Linked DNA regions of Homo sapiens: region 1 is linked to region 2. Evidence: promoter capture Hi-C in human tissues and cell types (Jung and others, 2019). All regions are on one chromosome and are shown on one strand. Each heading gives the region's core, a stretch centred on a gene start or on the middle of the fragment in contact. The rest is flanking DNA. Distances are from core to core; before and after follow the strand shown. Region 1 overlaps BLCAP (BLCAP apoptosis inducing factor). Region 2 holds the start of SAMHD1 (SAM and HD domain containing deoxynucleoside triphosphate triphosphohydrolase 1).

Evidence for each region. Contacts are between HindIII fragments. The study calls those that stand out against the background at their distance.
Region 1: a contact is called between a fragment that was not itself captured here and the fragment with the promoter of SAMHD1 in region 2, in 2 of the 25 tissues and cell types used here (dorsolateral prefrontal cortex and spleen).

What each region holds. Positions count from the first base shown.
Region 1 is chr20:37,512,779-37,519,941 of GRCh38, forward strand. It overlaps BLCAP (BLCAP apoptosis inducing factor), which reads right to left. Exons shown (of 2, transcript NM_006698.4): 2 at 4,639-6,572. The coding sequence starts at 6,396. The coding sequence ends at 6,133. Among named protein-coding and RNA genes, the nearest start is that of NNAT, 4.9 kb to the right of the region's middle. RefSeq lists enhancers at 5,817-6,680, 6,681-7,163. The HindIII fragment of the contact is 3,867 bases long and covers 3,735-7,163 here.
Region 2 is chr20:36,948,384-36,955,880 of GRCh38, forward strand. SAMHD1 (SAM and HD domain containing deoxynucleoside triphosphate triphosphohydrolase 1) reads right to left here and starts at 3,325. Exons shown (of 16, transcript NM_015474.4): 1 at 3,053-3,325. The coding sequence starts at 3,260. RefSeq lists a silencer at 2,820-3,039. The HindIII fragment of the contact is 37,170 bases long and covers 1-7,497 here.

The DNA.
Region 1 (7,163 bases), core at 4,418-6,917, 570 kb after region 2:
CTTAGGGACTCTTAGCAATTGATTGAACCACCTATTCATCTAGCCACCAGGTCAGCCAACCAGCAGGTACTATGCCAGGCCTGGTCAGGTAAATTCTGTGCTTGGTCAAGGAACAAAGACTAAGCCCCTTATCTTCAAGGGTTGTGCAGGGCCTTGATGACCAAGCCAAGGGATTGGGCCCATAAACAATATGGAATTACTGAAGGGCTTTGTCTGTCTTTCCTGCCTCATAGACACTTCCATGTCTTCTTTGGCTCTAAGCTAAGATCCTTGACAGTTCTGCACCCAAGAGACTTCAAGTTTATTTTTTAATGCAAAAGATCCTTTGATTAAACACTTGATTGTCTTAATATACTTTCTTTCAACCACTGTCTCTAAGACTAAAATAACAAGGAGATAAATGTCACTGATGTTTCACAGAAGACAGCTTTGGAAATGTTAAAGATATCTTGGTCCAGCCCCCTCCTTGACTTATAAATGGGGAAACAGAGGCCTAGAGAACAGTAAGGAGAGCAAAGCCACATGGAAAATGGATGGGAATCAGTCCCAGGGCCTTAGCACCTGCCTGCCTGCCCCCTCCTTGGAGGGTCACCACTACCAGTGTGGGGCAGGAGGCTGGCAGAGGGTTTGGCTTTGGAAAAGGTGTTGAGCTGTCCAAGTACAGGCTCCACACAAGCTGCTCAGGAAAAGTACTGAGAGGCCAGAACCACCCAGAAGATTAGTCTTTGAAGAAGACTCATATCTGACCCTTTGGGATATTTGACAAAGCACTCTCAAACATATGCTTCCTCTGGTTCCTCGTTGGGAGGAGGCTGGACAGACAGGGGTTACTCTCCAAGAGAGGGAAATCCATGGAGGGTTGCTGGGTAAAATGGTGGCTAAGTAGGGGCTCAAACTGAGGACTTTGGTCTCCCAGAAAGAAAGCTACACCTTGGTGTTTTCCTTTTCAGGATACTGCCTTTGCAGAGAAGGTAAAAAATAATTAATGGACTTCACACAGAGGTACTGAGATATGGTCTCCCAAATAATCTCTACCTAACTCCACTAAAGCCCTAATAACATGGTATTATCTACCCACAAGAATGACTCTGCCCTCCCTCCTGCTGATCTGAGCTCCTCAAGGAGGGCACAGTCATTCTGCACCAGCTTCTCAGAGCTTGGAAAAGAGCCTGGCAAATGCTCCTCAAATGAATGAATGAGAGGGAGAGCTGGGGGATCAGATCACATCCCTAACAGGCTGGAGCTTAGTAAAGGCCAGTGGCAGGGAGCCATAAAACAGAGGAAATAACATTTACGGAGACTGTGCCTTGGGGCCGATGCTGTAGTGGTGGTGTGTTCTCTATGAGACAGGTGAGGTATAGTCACAAAGGCAGGGCGTAAGCGCTGGGACTCTCTCAAGCCTTGCATCAAGGTTCTTCAGTCCTTAAAGTCTATCTCTGCCCAGCCTCTGAGTCCCTTTTCCAGGATCCCAAAGGGAGACCCAAGGCTTCTGTCTGAAGCCTTCAGTTGCTGCTTAGGCAGGTTCTCTTCTTCACCTCAAGCCTGCCTAACAATAGAAGTTTTTCTCAACATACTTCATTCTCCCCTTGAAGCCTGGCAGATCAAACTGTGTTCTTCCTGGGACTTTCAGGAAGATACTGGGGAGGGAGGGTTGCTGGGCTGAGACAGGCCAAGCTCCCTAGGCAGGACCATCTTCCATCAGGGAGAGCACTTCTTCAGTCATTCCTCTTTTCAGAACAGTGGCCCTTTCACACATTTTGGTGCGTTGGGGAGTGAACTTTGCATTGGATGGTAGAAGACAGGGTTCTGGCTCTGCCCACCAAATGGACACAGGTGACAGCCCTTCTCTGGCCTCCTTTCCTGCAGCTATTCAATAGGAGTTGGCTTTCCTTCTATCATCTTTCACTGCTTCCTTCTCCCCAGCCTACCTTTTCTCCTGTGTCCCTGCCTCACCCACACTCACTCCTTATGTCTACTTCTCCCCATTCCCAGTCATCTAGAGAAGCCAGTAGCCTTCTCCATGGCCCTGCTACTGTCACCACTCAAATGCTGTCCTGTTTCTTGCCGACAGAATCCCATCTCAAAGGCTGTTCTGACTGGGTTACTCCCCAACTCCCATCAGATCCTCGTTTGTGATGGTTCCCAGTTGGATGGAAATGAAGAGTTCTTAGGGCTGAGTTTAGGGGCCTGCCAATAGCATTTCAGCTTTAGATTTCCTTAGTATCTCCCAACAATTTGCTAGCTTTAGATAGACTGACCTCTTTATCCCAAAAAGCCTTTTTGGGTTCTGATTCTAGGGCAGCCAGATAGTGGTGGTCCTTCATTTTACTTTCATCCCAGTCTCTTTATCTGTAAGCAGAGATGCTTGATTAGATGGTAAAATAATAATAACATCTCATTCATTACTTCACTGCTCAAACCTTTATATTTGTTCTTCAGGTCTCCACCTGAAAGTCAATCCTTCCAGGCCTACATTGGGTCCCCTCTTAGACCTTCTCTTCTAGCAGCTGACACAGTCCACGGTTGTGTATCGCTGGCATTATCTGCTCAATGTTGTGCCCTTTCCCATTAGCCTGGAGGGCTCCCTAATGGCAGGAACTGTCCACCCTGTAGTCTCAAGGCCTATTCCTGCATGGGATTCTGCCAAATACCAGCCAAATGACTGACAATGCAGGCCCCCTTGGGAGACAAGAGGAGCCCATGAACTCAGTCGCTACAGAAGGGGAAGTCTGCGTAACACTAGCAGTAGCACTCAACAGAAGGCTGAGTGAAACGCTCCAGTCAAGTAGATCCCCAGGGAGAAGAAATCCAGGGAAGCTTCCTGACAGAGGAAATACCTGGGCTCACATGGTACACTGACTAAAGCATAAAGCCCATGCCATCCTGAAAGTGCACTGCCACCTACTCAGAGCCCAGCTAACATCCTCAAATGGGTCCAGGAAGACCCTAGATCTTGGGAGAAAGAACTCCCAGGATATTAGGACTAGAAAAACTGTCTGCTCCAAAGACCACATTTTACCTCTCTGGAAACTGGGGCCCACAGCAGGGTAAGAACCAGTTCCTAAAGAAGCCCAGACCTAGGCCTTATGGTGTCTTGTGGTCACTAGGTACCATGTGGGCAACCGTTTCACACTGAGCCACAGTGACCAATGTAATTGTGTGTTTTTCTAAGGCCTGCTGCCCCTACTCTTTTCCAGAAAAGGTATCTACTTTTCATTTTCCTAAAAGGCAGTTCAGGAAGAGGGGGTGGTTGCCTGGCAAGGTAGGAAGCACTGTGGGGTGACAGAATGCTGATTTGGCAGTCACTTTGGGAAGGGGTGGGCTGCAGGCTCCCTGCTGGAAAGGGCCACAAATCTTTCAGAGGGAGGCCTGTTTGTGACTCTTAAGCGGGCTTGACCTAAAACAGAAAGCTGCTTTCCGAGGGAGAGCAAAATAAGCAATAATCTTGGCTTCATTTATCATCCAGGTGTCGCCACAGGAGAGTAGGGACACAAAAGCCTTTTTTTTGTTTGTTTTGTTTTTGGAATTTGCAATTGTCTATTTTGTTAAGTCTTCCCACTAGGCTACAATCATGAGCTCCTGAAGAGTCAGGTCTGAGTCTTGCCCCTGAAATCCCCAGCAAGCCTAGTACAGGGTCTCAATGTTTGTTGAACAAACCATCCTTTCCAGGTATGACTCCTCAGCTTGTCAAGACTTTGCAGAACCACGAAATCTATCCAGAAACACAGAAAAGAAGAATTCAGAGATAAAAGCATAAAAGAATCAGGTAAGAAAATTACCCAGCAGATATGATCGATAAAAGTTTGGTTCTTTGAAAATACCTCTAAAATAGACAAATCTTTGGCAAGTTTTGAATGAAAAAAGGAATAAAGTGACAATGGGGAGACTTAAGTGAACAGGAGAAAACCATACTCAATTTTATAGCAACAAATTTAAAGCCTAGGTAGAACAGGTGATCTTCTATGAAATTACCAAAGCCCTTCACGACTGTGACTCAATAAAACCTCACGACAGCCCTGTGCCTTGGACAGGCAGTATTCCTACCATGCTTTCTAGAAGAAGGAGATTCAGAGGTGAATACTCAGCACAGGACCTGACAAACTAGCCTACACTGTCTCAAAGGTCATGGCCATGGGAGCACGTGCATACCTACAACATGGAACCACACCACTCTCGGCACTTCCAGCCATCACCTTACATCCGGCTGGTTGGACAGCCAGTCTTATTTATTTTTCCACTTGAAATGCCATAAGGGGTTTCACTATTTTTACTTCAAAAGCAGCACCATAAAAATCCTTGATGATTAGAGCTCCAGCTGTCTTAAGTTGTTTGTCAAGGGATCGGTTACTCAAATCTCCTATGGAGGGAAACAATTTCAGGCAAGAAGCCATGGGAGCTGAGAAACGCAAATGTCTCATCTCTGAAAACTTTCAGACTCCCTCCTGTTCACCGCCTGTCCTGCCCCCTGCTCCCCCTCCCCCATCCCCACCATCTGCTCTCCAGAAAGCAGATCAAATTTTCAGGCTAAGGTACTCTGGCGCCAAAGACTCAGCCCCTCCATGCTTCCCCCTGCCCCCCACCAACTCCGAAATCCAACACCACGACCCAAATGGACTGCAGCCACATAAAACCACAAAGTAAAGTTTATAAAGCTTTATTAAACATTTCAAACAGCTGTGCAACGAACACACCAAATAAAAGCTCTAGAATAGCAGTCCAGACGTTTCACAAGTATGGCCTCACAGTCCCATTCCCTAGATGGACTGCCTCCAGTTCTGTTCTCTGCCTGGCCCATCTCTCTTTCCCCTCAGGCAAGAGAGAGATGGATGGATCAGACTGAAAGGACAGGCATGCTGATCTCCAGCAGGCAGGGGCCAGGAGAAAGTCTCGTTTGCCAACACTTGTTACTGAAGCGCAGAAAAAGCAGCAAGTGACAGTCACAAAGTCTTCCTGGGTATTCTTCATAATGTACAGTCTATATGCGCAGGAACGAAGAAGCTCCTGGCGGGAGGATGATGGCCACTGCTCCCCTCTGTCTTGTCTGAACCACCTCGGAGTCCAGTGTGCTGGTCACTCTGCAATCCCCATGCTAAATAAAAACTGTAGCGGCACCTACCATATATAGCTAGCTATTGCTAAACCTCAAAATCAGACCACGTTCGATAAAGCTTCTTTAAAAGGAATATACACATGTATTTGTACACACACACACACAGGGCACACCAAAAAATATCCAAACATCTATCAAGGGGATCAAGGCCGTTACGAAACACACAGGTACTCTCCCACTCACTCAGCTGGGGACTGCTAGAACTACGTGAACACACCATACTTCAATGCTGCAGAGCATGCACGGGAGACACAATGAGGCCCCCTCCTTGGGACAGTTGAGAAAGGCAGGAGGAAGGGCAAAGGAAGTGAGGCTGGGCGGGAAAGCTTGAGCCCAGACACCCAGGTGAAAGAGCAACATCTATCTGTTGCTTCCTTTCTTAAAAATGAAGTGGAGAAAATACTGAAGATTTGTGGACAACTAACAGTCAAGACATGTTTCTGTCTAGCCTGCTGAACAAGGAAAGAAGGATGAAAAAGCGAGGCTCTCGGGCGTCAGCAATCTCTTCAAATTCGAGATAAGTGCAAAAATGAGCCCTGTCTTGGACAGGTACTCCCCAAAAAAGGAAAAGGGTAGAAGAGAAATAAAGGGAAACCAGAAGAGGGACTGAGGAGTCAGTAACATTCTGGGAAGGAAGGAGACCCTGACAAGGAGGGGTCACAGAGGTGACAATGAGACTGGCATTTTATCTGCCCCAGGTCACATTGGGGCAGCTGACCAGGATGGACCCAGACTCCTCACAGTAATGAGGCGAGAGGGGTGGTCATGCGGCCAGCCAGGACCTAGATGGGGACAGAACACACACAACCACAAGACCACCCACGACTATAGGACTTTACAATAAAAGCACCGGTCAGTGCCATTATTCACATTGTAAGGATAAAACATCACAGGCCAAAAAGGCGCCGTCAGGAATGTGACACCCGCGAGGCTGCGGGATTTGAAACTCCAATGCTTTATGACCTATGTCAATGCCTCCCCTCCCGTCTTCTGCTTCCTTGGAAAGCTAACAGGGCAGGCCGTTAGGTGCCCACAACGCCGGGATCATGCGCCGATTCTGGAAGCGGGGAATCGGAGCAGTGGTACAGGAAACAGTTTCCCCAGCAGCTATAGCAGATAAGGAACAGGGCTGCCAGGAAAACCAAGGCACAAATTGTGCAAGGCTTCCGTTCCAGGAGGAAGCTGAGCAGGTAGAAGCCCATGAACATGGAGTGGCTGAACCACAGGGCGGGGTTGAGGGGCTTGGGGATGAGGAGGACGGGCAGCAGCCACTGGAGGCAATACATGATCTCTGCCGGGCAGGGCCTTCACCAAGGCTGCCGGGCACCGCTGCAGGAACCGACCTAATGGGAGCCAGCGGGCGCAGGCGGCTGCCCTCCGCTTTCTTCAACCCTCACTCTCCAGGAGCTGAGCCGCTGTGCTCTCTGGCTGTCAGCCCGGGATCACCAAGGCAGCAGGGATCCTGAAGAGAAAAGTCAACACAACAGACAAACAGACAAAGAACAGACAGACAGACAAAAAAAAAAAAAAAAAAAGAAAAAAAAAAAAAAAACAGGAACAGAATGTATACTTATTTGGGAAAATGGATCATGGTTAACAACAGCAAATGTGAAATGCCCTTTCCTCCCTGCCCACCCGTGAAAGTTCTACTCCTCTCCAAGTCACTAATTCGGGAAGCTTCCTGGGATGTCTCCCCGGGGCTTCTCCTGGGGGATCGGGGAGAGGGCTCTTTGGCACGGTTTCACACAGTGGGCTGGCTTTGCCTGGGCCCTGCCCAGCAGAGATCATGTATCGCCTCCTGGGGCTGCAGCCCGTCCTCAAGGGGCCCAGACCTCACAATACCGCCCAGTGGTTGCCAAAGGACGACCAAGGGCTCCCTGCTGTGCCCCCACGTGGTAAGGACAGGGTTCTGTATCTAGCATCTCTCACAGCCATAGGTGCTCAGGCACTAAGTGCAGAGTTAAAGCTGTTAGCGGGGCACTGCCGGCCACCAGACCACAGGCAAAGGATCCTGAGGCAGCTACAGCCTCGAAATATTTTAAGATGGCAGCCT
Region 2 (7,497 bases), core at 2,075-4,574:
CTGGGACTACAGGCACATACCACCATGCCCGGCTAATTTTTGTATTTTTAGTAGAGACGGTGTTTCACCATGTTGGCCAGGCTGGGCTTGAATTCCTGACCTCAGGTGATCTACCTGCTTCGGCCTTCCAAAGTGCTGGGATTACAGGCGTGAGCCACCGTGCCCGGCCAAGAGAAACTTTATTAGAAAGAAAGACTATTGCTGGTCGGGCGTGGTGGCTCACACCTGTAATCCCAGCACTTTGGGAGGCCAAGGCGTGTGAATCATCAGGTCAAGAGATTAAGACCATCCTGGCCAACATGGTGAAACCCCATCTCTACTAAAAATACAAAAATTAGCCAGGTGTGGTGGTGGGCACCTGTAGTCACAGCTACTCAGGAGGCTGAGGCAGGAGAATTGCTTGAACCCGGGAGGCAGAGGTTACAGTGAGCCGAGATCACACCACTGCATTTCAGCCTGGCGACAGAGCGAGACTCTGTCTCAAAAAAAAAAAAAAAAGAAAAGAAAAAAAGAAAAGAAAAGAAGAAAGACTATTTCTACAGGGAGAAAGCTCCAATATCAGATATCTGCAAGAGGCTCAGGAATCAAACACATAGGCCGGCCGGGCGCGGTGGCTCACGCCTGTAATCCCAGCACTTTGGGAGGCAGAGGCGGATGCATCACCTGAGGACAGGAGTTGGAGACCAGCCTGGCCAACATGGTGAAACCCTGTCTTTACTAAAAACACAAAATTAGCCAGGCGTGGTGGCGTGCACCTGTAATCCCAGCAACTAGGGAGGCTGAGGCAGGAGAACCACTTGAACCCGAGAGGCAGAGGTTGCAGTGAGCTGAGATTGTGCCGGTGCACTTCAGCCTGCGTGACAGAGCGAGACTCCATCTCAGAAAAAAAATAAAATAATAAAATAAATTTTAAAAAATAATCAAACAGAGGCCCAAGAACCAAACAGAGGTTGGGCATGGTGGCTCACACTTGTAATCCCAGCACTTTAGGAGGCCGAGGTGGGTGGATGGTCACTCGAAGCCAAGAGTTTGAGACCAGCCTGGCCAACATGGCAAAACCCTGTCTCTAATTAAAAAAAAAAAAAAAATGAGGCCGGGCGCGGTGGCTCACGCCTGTAATCCCAGCACTTTGGGAGGCTGAGGCAGGCGGATCACGAGTTCAGGAGATGGAGACCATCCTGGCCAACATGGTGAAACCCCATCTCTACTAAAAATACAAAAAAATTAGCTGGGCGTGGTGGCACATGCCTGTAATCCCAGCTACTCGGGAGGCTGAGGCAGGAGAATAGCTTGAACCAGGCAGTTAGAGGTTGCACTGGGCCGAGATGGCGCCACTGCACTCCAGCCTGGCGACAGAGCGAGACTCTGTCTCAAAAAAAAAAAAAAAAAAAAAAAAGAATCCAACAGAAAAAGGGTCTTCTTTTATATGATAAAGGACGGGCAAGCAGAAATAAGCAGAATCTTTGGATAGGAACCTGGACGAGCAAGGGAAAATGAGCAGTGTAGCCCAACAGGACAGCATCCTACTGTGGTCAGCCGGTTCTCAAAAGAAACTGACCAGAGGGAGGCATATTCCACTGCTTTAGTGCCTGCCTGGTCAGATCTGGGGGTAAGCAAGAGTTGAGGGGCCCATAAGGGAAGAGAGAAGTCCGAATAAAGTTTGGTCAAGACAAAGCAGAAGCTAAGACATGAGCAATTGGGAACAGTTGGTCAGTTTTTACCAAATGAAAGCACATAGTGTCTTTGATAGCAATAGGTTGTAGGTTTAAGGAACACACATCATTCTGGAGGGTAACGAGTTAATCTACAAACCACTGAAACAGAGAGCCAACCACATTTTGAGACAGAAAATATGGAACTACTTCACTCCACTTGTTGCTAGTCAAAGAAAATAAAGTAATAATCCATCCCAGCAGTGGAGGGAAACGAAAGGGCAAAAGGGGGAAGAAAAAAAAAAAAGGAGAAATGCAATTTCCCATACCCATTCAAGCTATCTTTGGGTCCTGAACCACTAATGTTCCTCCTACCCCAGTTTCCAACCTAGCCAAACAGGGCCCCACCTAACAAATGCAAAAATTTACTAAATTTGCAAATCCCAACCACCAAAGAATCACCTTCCTATTGGACACCTAGAGGATATAAGGCAGGAGTCAAATCTCACACCCACCACAAAAAGTTGAGTAGAATTCACAAGGATGGATGCTTGGATACGAATCAGTAAAATATGATTAAAACTCAACCTAAACACTTCTCCAGGGGATGTGGCCAAACTGTGGCATGCTGGGGATTCAGTGGTCAACTGAACAACCCCAAGGTTCAGATTTTGGAGGGGAACCTGCTTTTAAAGAGCAAAACATGTTCCTTACCATGTTCTGCAAGTGCAGTCAACACACGCCTATCGGGCGCTGCTGGGATGCCAAGGAAGGTGATGGGAATTCAGAGATTAACCAAGCCAGTTCCTTCCCCTTCAGGAAAAGCCTCAATTCAGGGAGGAAACCGAAACCTAAAAGCCCCAGAACATCCTCTGATGTGGCAAGTGTTCAAGGAGCTGCGGTTAGCGCGGAGGGGTCCCGCGAGCCTGGATGACAGCAAGCCGCCCACCAAGGTCTGGGGAAAAATCTCCTTCTAACTAAAAAAAAGGGACCCGAGTCTCGCTTGTCCCGCGCCGGGGTGGCAAGTTAGTGAAGAAACCCACGAGAGTGAGATCCCAATCTACGACTGCCCCTCCCAGGTCCTCAATCCCGGGAGCCTGCTCCCATCCTACGAATCGCCTATCCCAGGCGACCCCATGTCTTCTTCCTCCGCCTCGGGGAGTCAGTCCCGGGAGCCCCATGCCGCAGGCCCTCCTGGGAACCCCCGCCGCAGGGCTCCCTCCCCCGCCTCGGGTCTTCCTTTCCTCGGCGCCCCCAGCGCAGGTCCGCCCTCCCGGGTGCCTCCCGCCGCAGGGCTCGCTCCTCGGCCTCGGTCCTCTCGTGGGGCCCCCTCCCTCAGGGCGCCTGGCCCGCGCCCCAGGTCGCCGCCCTTCGCCCCTCAGCCCCTCCGGAGCCGCTACCTCGGATGTTCTTCAGCAGCACCGGCTCTTCAAAGCCACCGCGCCTGAGGAAGGAGCACACCTGCTCCGGACCCCATGTCTTGTAGTCGGGATGGAGTTCCAGGCCCGGGGACCAGTCTGCCTCTGCGGAAGGGGTGTTTGAGGGGGTTCTCGGGCTGTCATCGCAACGGGGACGCTTGGAGGGCTGCTCGGAATCGGCTCGCTGCATGGCTACACCTGGCGTCCGGCACAGCAGTCAAGAACCTCGGCGCCGGACCCGCGCGCAGGCGCACTGACAGCAGGGCCCTGGCGGGGAGTCCAAGGAGTATTGGCAGCCTATTGGCCTCCTGCGCAGGCTCACTGACAGTTGAGCCCTTCGGGCAGGGCAGCCTAGCGGCTCTTGCCTTGGGCTCCCTGCGCAGGCGCAATGGCAGTCCAGTCGTCCTCAAATCAATCCCGCCAGGGCGCTGGACGTGAACGCGAAAGGGCGTGGCTAGAAGCAGAACTGAGGGCAGTGCTGGTGGAAAGGGGGAGGAAAGAGCGCGCCCGGCACCGCACCCCCAATTAGGGGCTCGTCTAGTGAATTGGGGGTATTCTCCTTCGAATGAGTACACTACCCGCCGCACCTTGGCCGGGTTTCAGATGCCCCAAACTTAAAAGAAGCCTAAAAGGCCGTCAGGCTGCCAGCACCTTCCCAGTGAAGAGGAAAACAGTCAAGGTGCTGAACTGGAAGAACCCGGAATGATTTCAAATGTGACTTGAGGGTGTCTTCATTCCACAGTATTGCTGGTCAACTAGAGGGCCCTGGGATACCTGTTGTCTGGTGTCCACACAGGAGGGGACTTCAGACTTCTTTCCAACTAGAGACAGAGCCCTCCATCCCAACTGCATTCCCAGAGGAAGGAAAGTGGCCAGTCTGATTACTTAAAATTTAACTTCTGAGGACTTTTACTGCCTGGTTGTAACAGCATGTGAAAATGGCAGGCATTTTCCCATCACTTAACCCCTCTGCGGCAGGGCTCAAACTTCCCTATAAATACTGGTCCATGCAATTGCCTGGTAAAAGGACATATCACTATTACTGTTAATAAAGCCAACACACCTTCCCAGCAACCAAGGCATAGACCTGTTTAGGGGGTCAAGGACGAATGAGGCGGAATAGCTTATCATCAAGCAGTATGAACTAGTGGTCTACTGGTGAGCCAAAATATTATTTGCAAACAGAGCTTTACTGTGTGCCAGGCACGGTTCTAAGGGCTTTACAAATATAAAATAATTTTATATTTATACATAATACTAAATGAATTAAGTACATTCATTAAATTATTTAAATATTAAATAATTTTTATAACTTCTAAGGGTTTTACAAATATTGTAAAGTTCTAAGGGCTCTACACATATTACTTCACTTAATTATCACAATTACCTTAGGATGTAGGAAAAAGTAATTTGCCGCAGGTCTTCTTTTTTTTTTTTGAGACGGAGTCTTGCTCTGTTTCCCAAGCTGGAGTGCAGTGGCGTGATCTCAGCTCACTGCAACCTCTGCCTCCCAGGTTCAAGTGATTCTCATGCCTCAGACTCCCAAGTAGCTGGGACTACAGGCGCCTGCCACCACACCTGGCTAATTTTTGTATTTTTAGTAGAGACAGGATTTCACCATGTTGGCCAGGCTGGTCTTGAACTCCTGACCTCAGGTGATTCCCACACCTCAGCCTCCCAAAGTGCTGGGATTACACAGCCGTACCCAGCTGCCCAAGGTCTTACAGCTAGGAAATGATGAAGCCTGTATTCAAACCCAAGAGATGTAACTTGGTTCCAAAGTCCATGGTCTTGATAACTTGCCAACCACTGCTTGTTAAAGGGGGTTTGGGGCTGGGTGCAGTGGCTCATGCCTGTAATCCCAGCACTTTGGGAGGCCAGAGCACTCACTTGAGGCCAGGAGTTCAAGGCCAACCTGGCCAACATGGTGAAACCCCATCTCTACTAAAATACAAAAATTAGCCAGGCCTGGTGGTGCATGCCTGTAATCCCAGCTACTCAGGAGGCGGGGGCACGAGAATCACTCAAATGTGGGAGGTGTAGGTTGCAGTGAGCCAAGATCTTCCCGTTGCACTCCAGCCTGGGCAACAGAGCAAGACTCTGTTTCAAAAATAATAATAATAAAAAATAAATAAATAAGTAAAGGGGGTTTTGATATAAAACTATTTTCTATTATTTAACCCACAATTTTCAATGGCTCCCTTTTCCTGCAGACCCATGGAGGAAAGTATAAAGGTGTTCCTGCCAGGCGCAGTGGCTCACGTCTGTAATCCCAGCACTTTGGGAGGCCGAGGCGGGTGGATCACCTGAGGTCAGGAGTTCGAGACCAGCCTGGCCAACATGGCAAAACCCTGTCTCTACTAAAATTACAAAAATTAGCTGGGTGGCCAGGCGCAGTAGCTGTCACCTGTAATCCCAGCACTTTGGGAGGCCGAGGCGGGTGGATCACAAGGTCAGGAGTTCAAGACTAGTCTGGCCAACATGATGAAACCCGTCTCTACTAAAAATACAAAACAATTAGCTGGGCATCGTAGCAGGCACCTGTAATCCCAGCTACTTGAGAGGCTGAGGCAGAGAATTGCTTGAACCTGGGAGGCGGAGGTTGCAGTGAGCTTGGATCGCGCCACTGCACTCCAGCCTGGGCAACAGAGCGAGACTCCGTCTCAAAAAAAAAAAAAAAAAAATTAGCCGGGCGTGGTGGCAGCCGCCTGTAATCCCAGCTACTCAGGAGGCTGAGGCAGGAGAATCGCTTGAACCTGGGAGGTGGAGGTTGAAGTGAGCCATAGCCTGGGAGACAAAAGTGAAACTCTATCTCAAAAAAAAAAAAAAAAAAAGAGTTGTTTTCCATCTGCACACAAGGCCAGGCCCCCCAAAAAAATGCCCTCAAACACTAGAGAACTTTGTGAAAAGACCTGACAGTTGCCAAGACTTGCGAAACCAAAACGGGATAAGAAAACAAATAGCATATGTATGAAAGACTTAATCTCAAGTCAGAAATGGCTGATTTAAAAACTTGTGTTTATAAGACCTGTGGGGAAACCTGCCCTGACATCAAGGTTTCCTGGACAATAGAAGGTGTTATAGCAGGGTTTTTAGTTTAATCAACTGTGTTTGTTCAAAGCAGCTGCTTTTAAGAATTTTTAGTTTTTTAATTTCATTTTTTTATTTTAATTTTAATTTTAATTTTTTTTGAGACAGAGTCTTGCTCTGTGGCCCAGGGTGGAGTGCAGTGGTGCAATCTGGGCTCACTGCAAACCTCTGCCTCCCGGGTTCAAGCGATTCTCCTGCCTCAGCCTCCTGAGTAGCTGGGATTATAGGCACCCGCCACGACGCCCAACTAATTTTTTTGTATTTTTAGTAGAGACGGGGTTTCACCATGTTGGCCAGGCTGGCTTTGAACTCCTGACCTCAAGTGATCAGTGAACTCCTGACCTCAAGTGCCTTGGCCTCCCAAAGTGCTCAGATTACAGGCATGAGCCACCGCACCCATCCAGAACTTTTATTTTCTGTTTTTGTTTGTTAAAAAGTATAATTTATTGCCATACTTATTATATTTTCCCTAATTCCCTACTTTCAAGGGGCCTTTGATCTTGCGCTAGGTCATTAGTTACTTGTTCAGGGTCAACATGGCTGGTAAGGGACAGAGAGAGGATTCAAAGGCAGTGCTCCCTCGCTCCAAAGTATAGGCTCTTTCCAGTTTGCCACTTCATTTAACTCCTCTTACAGTCCTAACGATCCTTTTCCATCATAATTCCACAGCCTGGGAACCAACACCCACTGGACACAGGCCCTGGACTCTGGCCATAGTGAGAGAAATGACTGCTCAAGCTGCCCTCTTCTAAAGTCAATCTCAGTATGGTTAGGACTAGAAAAAACAATAAGATCAATTAATTTAAGGCCCACTGCCCAATGACCTTGAATAAGCCCAGCAAGCTTTCCCTGACCTTATCTATTTACCTTCCACCCAGCCAGGCAAGCTGGGCAATTTTATTTCTGGCAGCATTCACCTGTGGTTTTTACATCTCTTCACAGCTTCCTTTTCAGCCAGTGTTGCTGGTTCTCAATGCCAGCTGCCACCACCCTCTGCATCTCTGTTTTACTGCCTTTTATCATTTACTGAACTTAGCCTCCTCAAGACTTTTTTTCCCATCTGCCCAAATTGCGAAGCTGAGCCAAAAAAATTTTTTTTTAAGTATTGATTTTCTTACCTGTTAAAGATAATGCTCAAGTAGGACAGGCGCAGTGGCTCACGCCTGTAATCCCAGCACTTTGGGAGGCCGAGGTGGGCGGATCACCTGTGGTCAGGAGTTCAAAACCAGCCTGGCCAACATGGTGAAACACCGTCTCTACCAAAAATACAAAAATTAGCCAGGTGCACGTCTGTAATCCCAGCTACTCAGGAGACTGAGGCAGGAGAATCACTTGAA